2 separate regions of the Homo sapiens genome follow, and region 1 is linked to region 2. Evidence: promoter capture Hi-C in 16 types of primary human blood cells and fetal thymus (Javierre and others, 2016). All regions are on one chromosome and are shown on one strand. The core of a region is centred on a gene start or on the middle of the fragment in contact, and the rest is flanking DNA. Distances in the headings are between cores, read along the strand shown.

Evidence for each region. Contacts are between HindIII fragments. The CHiCAGO score rates a contact against its expected background, and 5 or more counts as called.
Region 1: a contact is called between a fragment that was not itself captured here and the fragment with the promoter of FOXB2 in region 2, in 1 of 17 cell types (non-activated CD4 T cells). The highest score is 5.9, in non-activated CD4 T cells.

What each region holds. Positions count from the first base shown.
Region 1 is chr9:76,446,533-76,452,325 of GRCh38, reverse strand. It overlaps a transcript of GCNT1 not described here. Among named protein-coding and RNA genes, the nearest start is that of GCNT1, 9.8 kb to the left of the region's middle. The HindIII fragment of the contact is 3,614 bases long and covers 2,583-5,793 here.
Region 2 is chr9:77,016,498-77,022,772 of GRCh38, reverse strand. It overlaps FOXB2 (forkhead box B2), which reads right to left and starts at 3,118. Exons shown (of 1, transcript NM_001013735.1): 1 at 1,820-3,118. The coding sequence starts at 3,118. The coding sequence ends at 1,820. The HindIII fragment of the contact is 5,221 bases long and covers 414-5,634 here.

The sequences.
Region 1 (5,793 bases), core at 3,140-5,639, 570 kb after region 2:
AATATATTTTGGTCTGCTAATGATGTGTTCATTCTTGCCACACTGAAAAGTTGTACAGGCCAGGTGCAGTGGTTCACACCTGTAATCCCAGCACTTTGGGAGGCCAAGGTGGGTGGATCACCTGAGGTCAGGAGTTTGAGATCAACCTGACCAACATGGTGAAACCCCATCTGTACTAAAAATACAAAAATTAGCTGGATGTGGTGGCAGGGGCCTGTAATCCCAGTTACTCGGGAGGCTGAGGCAGGAGAATCACTTGAAGCCAGGAGGTGGAGGTTGCAGTAAGCCGAGATCACACCATTGCACTCCAGCCTGGGCGACAGAGAGAGACTCCATCTCAAAACAACAACAACAACAACAAAAAAAAAAAAAAAAAAGAAAGAAAGAAAAGAAAAGAAAAGTTGTACTATAAGGAAGTGTATGGCTATAAAAAAGTCACAAGATATATAACCTTAAGCTTGACTAGTCTGCTACAATATGCTGGTATATGACAGACAGCTAATTATCTACTTCATAGTTTTCTCTGTAGGTATATTACTTTGCTAGGTCTGTCAACAAAGTACCATAGACTGGTACTTTAAACAACAGAATTTTGTTTTCTCACAATTCTGGAGGCTGGAAGTCCAAAATTGAGTGTCAGCAGAGTTGGGCTTTTTCTGAGGCCTCTCTCCTTGGCTTGTAGATGCCAAGATTAATATTTCTTTGGCCTTTTATATTAAAACTTTTAATTAACATTTATCTTTTTAATGGTAGGCATTCCTCATTTTAAGATACCTGACCCTTAAACAACTGATTTTTGCCACCACCTTTCAACAGATGCTTCAGCTGGTTTTGTGGGAACAACACCAACCAGAGTCCCCAGGAGACCGTTTCTTAGTCCCTGACTCACCCCATGTAGGAGGCTTAGGATTGCATCTGAATTGCTCAGTGGTGAATAATATTCTTTTATCATTAACAAAAGGGAGGTCAACAGTGTTGATCTTTGCCAGAGCCTTGTTTTTCTGAAAAATAGCACTGGCTAAAGAGCTCTCCTCATCCTTTTATGATAGCCACCCATCCTCTTCTTGCAATAATCCTTTTGAATAAAGTCTCCCCTTGCCTAAATCCAGATTTATTTTGACAAATGCTACAAAATTAGTTTTGAATTGTTTTAGAAATTTAATCAAATTACATTGAAAAGAACATGAGGAAGACATAAAAGAGTAAGGTACTACTTTCAAAGCATGGAGAAAGCAAATTCAATCATAAATGTACTGTCCAGGAAAAAAAGAAAGTGTGGCTCCTAAGCATGCAAATTCCAGGTAGAGTAAAGCCTGAAATATGTTTCTAAAACCCATACATGTAAGTTCTTTAATGTTTTTAAAAAGAAACAGGTTGATCCCTTTTAAGAGCAGGCAGCATTTCTCAGAATGGCAACAAAGCTAAAATCACACACAAAATAGTTTGATATAGTTAATACATTAAAGTGTTAAATGTATGCATAACAAAATATATCATAAACAAAGTTAAAAGTCAACAAACTAGAAAATATATGCAATAGTATGTAAGCAAAAATTAATTTTTCAAATAAAGGGGTGTTTACGTAAAAATATGCACCAGGTGAAAAATGGGCAAAGGGCATGATAAGATACTTCACTAAAGAAGAAATCCACATAAAAAGATGCTCAATTTCAATAGGAATTGAAGAAAAGCAAATTAAAACTACAAATCACTTTTTACCTATCAGATTGGCAAAGTTGAAAAAGATTGATAAACATAATATAGATGAAGGTGTAGGAATACAGACTCCTGTGCTGCTCTCTGTTGTAGAGATTTCTACAAACTTTCTAGAAGGCATTTGGACAACATGGATACTTATGGACAACTATTCATCTAGGAATTTATCCTATGTAGGAAATTTTACAAATACACAAAGATTTCAGAATCGAAACACTGTAAACAATGTAAGGGTTGTTAAAAAATAATTTTCAGAGAAAGATAAAATCATGACTCATACAAATATAAAAGTGCACATCTGTTAAGGAATTTACGCATATGCTATAAGGGAATCAGATGTACGTTATAAACATTTCAAAGGAAAAGTCAAAAAGCACAGATTTATCTGGAGTAAAGGAATGTTAAGATGAATTGCAAATGGAAACAAAACTGGTATTTTCATAGGGTGGGGATGGCGGGAACCAATTAAATTATTGCCAGACAGGACAGAATTTACACACCATCAGTTACATATAATTTATAAAAAGAGGCGAATAGGGCCGGGCGCAGTGGCTCACACCTGTAATCCCAGCACTTTGGGAGGCTGAGGCTGGTGGATCACTTGAGGTCAGGAGTTTGAGACCAGCCTGGCCAAAACGGCGAAAACCTGTCTCTACAAAAAATACAAAAAATTAGCTGGGCGTCTGTAATTCTAGCTACTTGGGAGGCTGAGGCATGAGAATCACTTGAGCCCAGGAGGCAGAGGTTGCAGTGAGCCGAGATCACACCATTGCACTCCAGCCTGGGTGACAGGGTGAGACTCTGTCTCAAAAACAAAACAAAACAAACAAAAACGAAAAGGTTTATTTTGTTTGCATATGTAAGCTTCACAGAAAAAAAGTGAAAATCCCAAAGAGGTGCTTAGACCCAGGAGCTTATACAGCATTTTAACAGAGGATGATAAAGTGTGGGAAGCTACTAGACAAGGGAAATGGGGAGAGGCTGCGCTTCTCTGGTGTGGGTAAATTGTGGGAAGGTAACTGGGAAAGGCATGGTAATTAAGGCTTGTTTAGTGAGGTGTGTTATGCAGATGAATTGTTCACCTTATTCTGGTATGGGAGAGGGCATCACCTTTGCAAAGGGAAATTAGGCAAACGTTTGTAGGTAGAAAGAGAGAGGGCAAAGAGTTTTGCTTGTGTCTGCTGTTTCTCAGTTGCCTTTAGCTCAAAATAATCCTTATGCCAATATGGCATGTTTTGAGGTGGCACATTCTTTTTTACTTTTACTATTATCATTTTATTTGCTTGTTTTTTTTTTTGTTGTTTTTTATAGAGACAGGGTCTTGTTTGTTGTTGCCCAGGCTGGAGTGTGGTAGTGTGATCATACCTCACTGTCATCTTGAACCAAGTAGCTAGGACTACAGGTACACACTACCCCGCCCCGCTAATTTATTTTATTTTGTTTTTGGTAGAGACAGGGTCTTGCTTTATTGCCCAGGCTGGTCTCAAACTCCTGGCCTCAAGGGATCTTCTCACTTCAGCCTCCCAAAATGCTGGGATTATAGGCCCTGCCACCATGCCCAGCCTGGGGTGGCATATTCTGATCCCTTTCCCATTGTTTCAGAAAGATGTTTCCATTTTGGAAAAACATAAAATAAATGAACAAATAATAGTAAATTTAGCATTTCTGTCCAAAAGAAAATGACATGTACAGTGAGCAGATGCCCATCAGGGTGTTTACCAGCAAAAACAAGTTAAAAGAAGTACCTGTCTGAATGGATCAACAAATTGCAGCATATCATATTAAAATAATGGAATGACATTTAAGAAAGCAAAATTGATTCACACTTCAACATGGATGAATCTCCAGACCTTATGTGGAGATAAAGATGCCAAACACGAAAGAGTACAGACCGTTTGATTCATGTTTATGTATCTGAAATTCTGGAAGAGGCAAATCTAATCTATAGTGACAGAAAGGAGAGCAGTTGTTGCTGGGGCTGAGTGTGGGGAGAGGAGGGCATTTGCTTTTTGGGGTGATAGAAATGTTCTTTATCTTGATTGTGGTAATAATTGCCTGGGTTAGTAGGTTGGTCAGAAGTCATGGAACTATACACCTAAACAGCTATATTTTATTAAACCATGCCTCAATAAGATTTTTTTGCTGCTGTTGTTGTTTTGAGGTGGGGTCGTACTCTGCAACCCAGGCTGGAGTGCAGTGGCATGATCACAGCTCACTGTAGCCTCAGTCTTCTGGGCTCAAGCCATCCTCCCACCTCAGCCTCCCAAGTACCTGGGACTACAGGTACGTGCCACCACACCTGGCTAATTTTTGTATTTTTTGTAGAGATAGGGTTTCACCATGTTGCCCAGGCTGGTCTCAAACTCCTGGGCTTAAGTAATCCGCCTGCCTCGGGCTCCCAGAGTGCTTGGATTACAGGCGCGAGCCACCGCGCCTGGCTGTGTGTATATATATATATAAAGTGTCTGTTAGTAAAGACTAGAGGGGTAAACAGAAAGCAGACAGCATGTGTTGAGCAAAATCTGGACTCGCTGAGTTTGCAGTGATGATAAACTTTCAGAGTAGAGGCTCTCCAGGCTTCTCAAAGTATTCCTGGACTCAGTGATTCCTATCTGGAAGCCATCTGGACAAAGACGGCTGGCACAGCCATGCCACTAAATGCACTCTTTTGAGGGTAAGAGTGCATAGAAGTTGTGAGGCATTTTCAGTTTCAGGAATCCAGCACAGCAAAGGAAGATGACAGGGTCAGGGCGTACTGGACACAGGGATTGTGGACTGACATGCTAAAGAAGACGGATGAGCCAGGGGGCTCACAGAGTTTTTTTAAAGCTGAGCACCAAAATGCCTATGCTAAATGAACAAGAATGTTCTAGATATAAAAATTATTTAATAAACATCCTCCATACTGACTTGTAAATATTGCGTGAAGTGTGGCAGAGGCCCCCTCTGGTGGTAGTGTGCAAAATCACATGTATAACTATAAAAAAGTTAAGAAATAGGGTGAAAATCAGTCCTAGTGTTTACATACATTAGATGTTAGAGGTATATACTAAAGAGGCAGTTTAGGCTGGGCACAGTGGCTCATGCCTGTAATCCCAGCACTTTGGGAGGCTGAGGCAGCCCGATCGCTTAAGCCCAGGAGTTTAAGACCAGCCTGGGCAACATGGTGAAACCTCTCTCTACAAAAAAATAAAAATAAAAATTAGCTGGGGCGTGGTGGTGCACACCTATGGTCCCAGCTATTAAGGAGGCTAAAGTGGAAGGATTGCCTGAGCCCGGGAGGTTGAGGCTGCAGTGAGTGGTGATCAAGCCACTGCACTCCAGCCTGGGTGAGAGTGAGATCTGTCTCCAAAAAAGAAAAAGAAGAAAAAGAAAAAAAGAAAAGGAAGAAGCAATTCAGCAATATCCACATACCATCCATATCTGTTCTTTTTTTTTTTTTTTTTTTTTTTTTTTTTGACACAGGGTTTCACTCTGCCCAGGATGTAGTGCAGTGGCACGCTCCCAGCTCACTGCAGCCTCAATCTCCTGGGCTCAGACAATCCTCCTACCTCAGCCTCCCAAGTAGCTGGGATTACAGGTGGACGCTACCATGCCCAGTTAATTTTTGTATTTTTTGTAGAGATGAGGTATCACCATGTTGGCCACGTTGGCCTCAAACTCCTGGACTCGAGTGATCTGCCCGTCTCAGCCTCCCAAAGTGCTGGGATTACAGGCATGAGCCACTGTGCCCAGCCTAAACTGCCTCTTTAGTATGTACCTCTAACATCTAATGTATGTAAACACCAAGCCACTATGCTTGGCCCATATATGTTCTTTACTTTGCTTCTTCTCACTTAACACGTTTGGAAAATCATTCCATATTAGTTTATATAAAGCCTCTTTGTTCTTTTCAGTGTCTATCCAGTACGGGGCTATGCCATGATATTCAAATAGTTCCCTAATGGCCATTCCAGTTGTTTCCAGTTTTTTGCTATTATAAACAATGCTACAGTGAATGTCTTCACACATATATAAAACATATGTGTAGTATTAATTGCCGTAAGTGGTATTGCTTGGTCAAAATGTATGTGCATT
Region 2 (6,275 bases), core at 1,869-4,368:
GTTCAATTAGGAAACGGACATATTAAAAATAGGTGGTGGCCGGGCGTGATGGCTCACGCCTGTAATCCTAGCACTTTGGGAGGCCCAGATGGGACGATTGTTTGAGATCGGAAGTTCGAGACCAGCCTGGTAAACATAGTGGGATCTTGTCTCTAAAATACTACTACTAATAATAATAGATAGTAAAAGAGATGATTGTGCCAAAGGCTGAAAGGAGCAATGAAGGAAATCGGTGCTTACTGGTGGCTCGCCCGTGTACTCACCCCTTTGAAGTTCTGAAGTTAAGAAATAAGAGGGAGGGGAAGGATTTGCAAAGTACCCTAACCTAACTGTGGGCACTCAAACCACGGCCTCATCCTTGGAGAACTGAAACACCTTCACACGGGGCTAGCATAGATATCCAGAGAGAAGCTTTAATAGAGAACACCGCGTACAACACCAGCAGACATAAACAAAGTCACAACCCGAACGCGGCGCGGACAAGAGGCGGAGGTGACTTAGAGCCAAAGGGCAAAGCGGATTTCTCCCCACTCTGCCCCCCTCCATTCCCAAAATTGTGTCGCGAGTAAAGTGCTATTCCCTGGGGCTCAAGAGGGGGGAAGGGCAAGAGCGACAAGGCAAGTTTCTTTCCCATTCACGAATTGAAACTGAAGAATTAATTCGCCTGAAAGACATAAGCGCTCAAACAGCACACGGAATACAAAAACAGCCGCAGCGTGCAAAGGTGACTGGGTGGTCCCCTTGCTTCCGTCCGAGGAGACTGGAAGGGAACAGCCATGGAACGTTTCTGCAAGCGTTAAGAGCAATATTGTCGAGTGATGTGCCGAGTTTTTCCTGCATTCGTAAGTTAGGGAAACAAAATCCCGCTATACAAGTGATTTGTTTCCTTAAAATTCCAAATAGAAAGGATCGTGGGAATTCACATTATTCTTGGGCTCTCATCCGACTGATACCCAAACAAGTTGCAGGTGGAAAGTCGCCTGTATTGTCTCCCTTTGGTTGTGTTTCCCAACTTTTGGAATTTGGGGCTTTACCCTTTAAGCTGCTGCCATTCTCTTTTGTACAAACTAATTGCTCTAGAGGTTCCTCCTATCCTTCTTGACCCCCAGGTCAGAGCCAAGAACCTTAGCTGTTTCCCAAAGATATTTCGTGGGGTTCCCGCTGCCTCCTCTCCTCCCCTTCCCCCTCCAAAGCGACTTTATTCATGACACCGTTTCCTTGCCCATTTAGCTGACTAGGAAAATAACGGTATCAAACGCTTCCTCTTTTCCTTCTTAAATAAAACGAAATTTCCTTAGTGGACGGCAGTTTTGTCTTGAATGTTCACGAGAGGCGACCGCCGAGGATGCGACCAGCAGAGAGAAACGTGGTGGCTGAGATCCGTTTCAGCGTCACTCTCTGTTGGATTCTTCGCGGGAGGTTTAGCTCTGCCAGCTTCTGCTCCCAGGAATAAGGGTCAGAATCGACTTCCAATTTACCAGCGAATGAGGCTTTCCTAACCTCCTTCGTTCCCTCCCCCCATAACTTATGGATTTATATTAATTACAATAGAAACTCTTACCTGAAAATTGGCTTTCATTAATCTGATTGTACAACATAGTATAAACACAGACACCAGGAAGGTTATATTTATTCAGACCACTGGAGAATCCACTTTTCGGGGTTGTTCGTCTATTTAAATACCTTCCGTTCCAGCAAAGGCTGAGACTCGCCAGCTCTGCCCGGCCTGACCAGGGCGCCCTCTCCCCGTCGGGTGGTTTGGGCGGTTCCGGGCCCGGCGTCTCTCACCCCGCTGGTCTCCCCACGCCCGCCGGGTCCCCTAGGAGTGCACTAGCACCGAGTGCAAGGAGCCGCCCTTGCTTTCGGCCGAGGTAGGGGCTGTGGGCTCCAGCAGAGAGGCAACGGGCGAGGCCGCGGCCGCGGAGCACACGGTGGATGGCGCCGGAGGCTGCTGCGAAGCCGCGGGGACAGTGAGCCCCGGCTGCAGCGCGGACACGGGCGGCAGCGCAGGCGTGGGCTTGATGGGCACCGGCATGGCAGGCAGGCTCTGGCTTGCCGAGTGGCACAGGGACTTGACCGGGACCCCGAAGGCCCCATACTCCGGGCCTACAGGGACTCCGGCTGCGGCTGCGGCGGCCGCGGCGGCGGCCACCGAATCCATGACGCCAACGTGCGGCCACACGGAGCTGACGACGTTGCCAAGCTGGCCGGGCACGGGGTAGCCCAGGTGGTGCATGACGGACGCCAAGGGCAGCCCTCCAGCCTGCAGCACGCCCTTGTAGTCCCGGCCAATAATGTTCTCAATGGCAAAGGGGTGCTTGAAGCCTGACGTGGACGCCGCGGCCGCGGCGGCAGCGGCGGCGGCCGAGCCCAGCCCGTAGGGTGGGAACTGAGACAGGCGTCCCACGCTGCCCACCGCGGCTGCCGCGGCCGCCGCCGCCGCCGCCGCCACGGCCGCCGCCTCCTGCATCTTGCCGGGGTGAGACGGCTGCTGAGGCTGCGACTGCTGGGGCGGTTGCTGCGGGGGCTGTGACGGGAGGTGCGGAGGCGGCTGCGGAGCAGTAGGCGGTTGCTGATGGAAATAGTGTACCATGTGCGGCGGCGGCGGGGGCGGCGGCGGCGGCGGCTGGGGTGGGTGGTGGTGATGGTGGTGGTGTGCGGCAGCGTGGTGATGATGGTGGTGGTGGGGGTGGTGGTGGTGATGGGGGTGAAGGTGCCCTCCCGGACCGGCGCCCGGCGCGCTCTTGGTGCTTCCCGCGTGCAAGTGAGTATGGTCGGCGCGCAGCACCTTGAAGCGCTTGCGACGCCGCAGGAAGCTGCCGTTCTCGAACATGTCCCCGCAGTCGGGGTGCAGCGCCCAGAAGCTACCCTTGCCAGGCTGGTCGGGCCTCCGCGGAATCTTGATGAAGCAGTCGTTGAAGGAGAGGTTGTGGCGCAGGCTGTTCTGCCAGCGCTGTGTGTGCTCGCGGTAGTAGGGGAAGCGCTCCATGATGAACTTGTAGATGTCGCTCAGCGGCAGCATCTTCTCGGCCGAGTGCTGGATTGCCATGGCGGTCAGCGAGATGTAAGAGTAGGGCGGTTTTTGGTCGCTGTACGAGCTCTTCCCCGGCCGCGGCATCGCCCCCGGCTCCTCCACCGCCCTCCGGCCCGCACTGGACCACAGAATCTCTCCGCACTCCGTTCCTGGGGCCTGGCTGCCCCCACTAATTCCCACTCGGCCCCTCCAGTCCCGCCACTTTGCCCTCTCGCCCTCCAGGCCCTCTCTGCTTCTCTCTCCTGCCTTCTCCGAATTGCCTGGTGTCTCCGACCTTGGCCTTTCGGGCCTACTCAGCTCTCGGAAGCTGGCAACTTCTGGCCCCGACGGTTGCCGACTGGCGCGCACAGTCGCGGGCGGAGTGCACCAGGTTTACCGCCGCCTTCTCTGCGTCTTCCCCCGGGTGGCCAAAGACTGAGTGCTGGAGCTGGCTGCAGAGGAGAGTGGCAAGGGGCCGTGTTTCCTCCCGGCCTCTTTGCTTTTTCTAGGTCCGAGGGAAACCCAGACCAAGATGGCTGGGAGGAAGGTCTGGGCAGTAGAGACTCTGGCCCTTTAAATCTGAGTTTGCGCCTGCTGTCCTGGAGGCCAGTGACAGCAGGACTTCCAGTGCCCTGGACGCAGGCCCCTGGCCAGGCACTTAGCCAGACCGCGCTGGAGTTCTCCTTTTCCTGGAGTGAAAAATCAGGGTAAGGAGAGAGAAGATTGGCTTCTAGGGCGCCTCTCTTTTCTCCGAGGCTCGCAGCGTCGCCGGGGTTAGAAGAGACGCGCAGCCCTAGGCTGTCGCTGAGGAGAAAAAACTTTGGTGGTTTCTGAAGCGGCAGCGCCCGCAGGTTCTGCTGAGGAGTGTGGGGCGCAGGACTCTGGGAGCGAGCGGCGGGCTGGAGAGGGCGTCTGCGAATGCTGGGTGAGTGCTGGCCGGGGAGGCTCAGCCGTCCGCGCCGCAGCTGCCGCCTTTCTCCCGGGCTTGTCTTGAGGAGGAGAGGCGACGGCAGTGGCAGCGACGCGCTCTCCTGGCTGCGTTTTGTAATGGTCCCCGAGACGCCGAGACCCCCGCAGCTAGCGCTTCGAGACTATCACATGACCGAGGCTGAGGGACTCAGCCGCCGCCGCCGCGTCTGTAGCTGAAGAAGGGGCAAGAAGGCGCCGTGCCTCGCCCCCGCCCCCTTTTCCACCTCGTTTCGGGCGCTCTCCACCCATCGCGTTCACCACTCGCTCGGCAGCCCCCAGCCACCTCCCGGTGCGGCGGGTGGCGCAGGCTGTTCGCCGGGAGGGGGCACAGCTCCGGGTGCATTTCCCGCAGCTGCGCCCCACCCGGGCCACCAAGCACGGTGGAGGGGGAACAGGACACTGCCTTCTTGCTTCTCTTCTCTCTGGCATCTCCCTCTTCCGCCCCCTTCCTTTTACCCTTCCCTGTTTTCATCTACTCGCTGTGAGCTTCTCTCTCCTTACAAACCCTTTTTCCTGGGCTAGACACTCTGGGTCAAGTTCAGAGTATCGTGTCCTCAAGGCCTCTTCTCTGCAAGAAACCCCGATGATTAGAGGGCTGGAGGGAAAAACTCATGGGGAAGAAAGCATGGGGTGTTTTCACCAAATGCCAAATTCATCTCAGTTTTATTGCGCGCCAACTGCATGTGAGGCACCAGGTGCAGGGAGACAGGAGACAGTATCCGAGCTCCACCATCGCGGTATAGAGGGTGAGACGAACAGTAACCAAGAAATTAATAGAATAGGCACTAAAGGGCTTGGCGAATGGAGGCTCCACCACACTTTCCTGGAGCGAGTGAGTTGGACAAGATGAGGTTTCTCTGGGATGGCGATGTCTGAGCTGGGGCCAGAAGTAAGAGTTGGGGATTCAGGGGTCCCATCACCTGTGTGTGCTGGAAGGAAATCTTTGCTATTCTTAGCACGGTGGTGTGGGGCCAGGGCGAGGCAGGAGGTGGAATGGAAATAATTAAATAGGAAGCAAAAATTATCAGTCCACAGGATCCTGGTGTGATCTGCGAGGGAGAGGTGGATGAACCCAGGAGTGAGGTCCTTCTGCTTGGAGGTTCCTGCTCTGCACTCATCCAAACACCCAGCAGGAAACCCCAGTTTACTGCAGGGAGAACCTGAAGTTGTATACTCGTTTTGGCTACCTTTGCCCTTCAGCTGGGAGGAAAAGCAGAGTTTAGAAACAAGTATACTCTCCGTCTCTGGGACTGTTTCATTATTTGTAAAATAGGGTGGCTGAAGTTGGAAATTCACGGGTCCTTTCCCGTTAGGCGATTTGAGGAGAAAGGAGCATTTGGACACTATGGCTCCCTCGGTTTTCCCACGCCTAACCTGGAAGAAAGCCATCGGCCCAGCTGCTTGGGGGGCTGCCCCCTAACTAGCAACCTTGGTGACACCAGATCGGGTGTTTTCAGCTTCTGGCTTTTGGTGAGCTGGACGGTGGGAGCACGTCTGTCCGTGGGGTGGCTTAGCCAGGTCGCAGGAGTGCCGTGAGCGGGTCAGGCCCGTAATTTCCATCTTTAGTCAGGAGCTAGATTTCTGGCTAGCTCTATGTGGCCAGTTTGTCCTAGGCCAGAAGACGTCTGAGAATAGATGTTACGACTGAAGCTTGCAAGAAGGCCCGGGGAAAAGAGCAGCTTCTTGGTCCTAAGCCCTTTTCAAAGTAAGATGTTTTCTCTTTCACTGTATGTCGGAAGCTTTCCTCCTGCCATAGGAGTTTCTGCGCGATTTTTGTCCGCTGAGACACTTGAGAGAGCCGAGCAGCGGACAGCCTCTTGGCCTCGGGAAGCCACAGAATTCCAAGGACGCTCACAGTTTGACAAGAGCCTGCTGGAGCCAGGTGGCTCCTTTTCCTTGGAACAAGACCGTGAGACAACAGCCCTGTCCCAGCCCAGGAAGCTGGGGTCTCCTGCACCGCTGTCAGGCCGCTGCTGAGGAGCTCTGCGTGCCGCACACTTAAGGGCTCTCCGGACTTCGACCCCACACGCAGCTCGAGCAAAGGGATCTTTTGTTGATACCTCGGATAGCATCCCTTCCGCGGGTTGCTGGAACAGCAGAGTCTCCTTTTGGGGAGCAGCTCTGGGACCGTGCCCGTTGGGCACTTGCGGCTCCTGGGAACCGATCGAGGGGAGGGGCCCTTCAGGGACTCCCGGGACAAATCTTGGGCGCATAACGCGAACCCTGAGCACAAAAAATGAGCCAGGCCCTCACTGGGTGAGCTCGCTACAGCCCGCAGACCCGCCGCCACAAC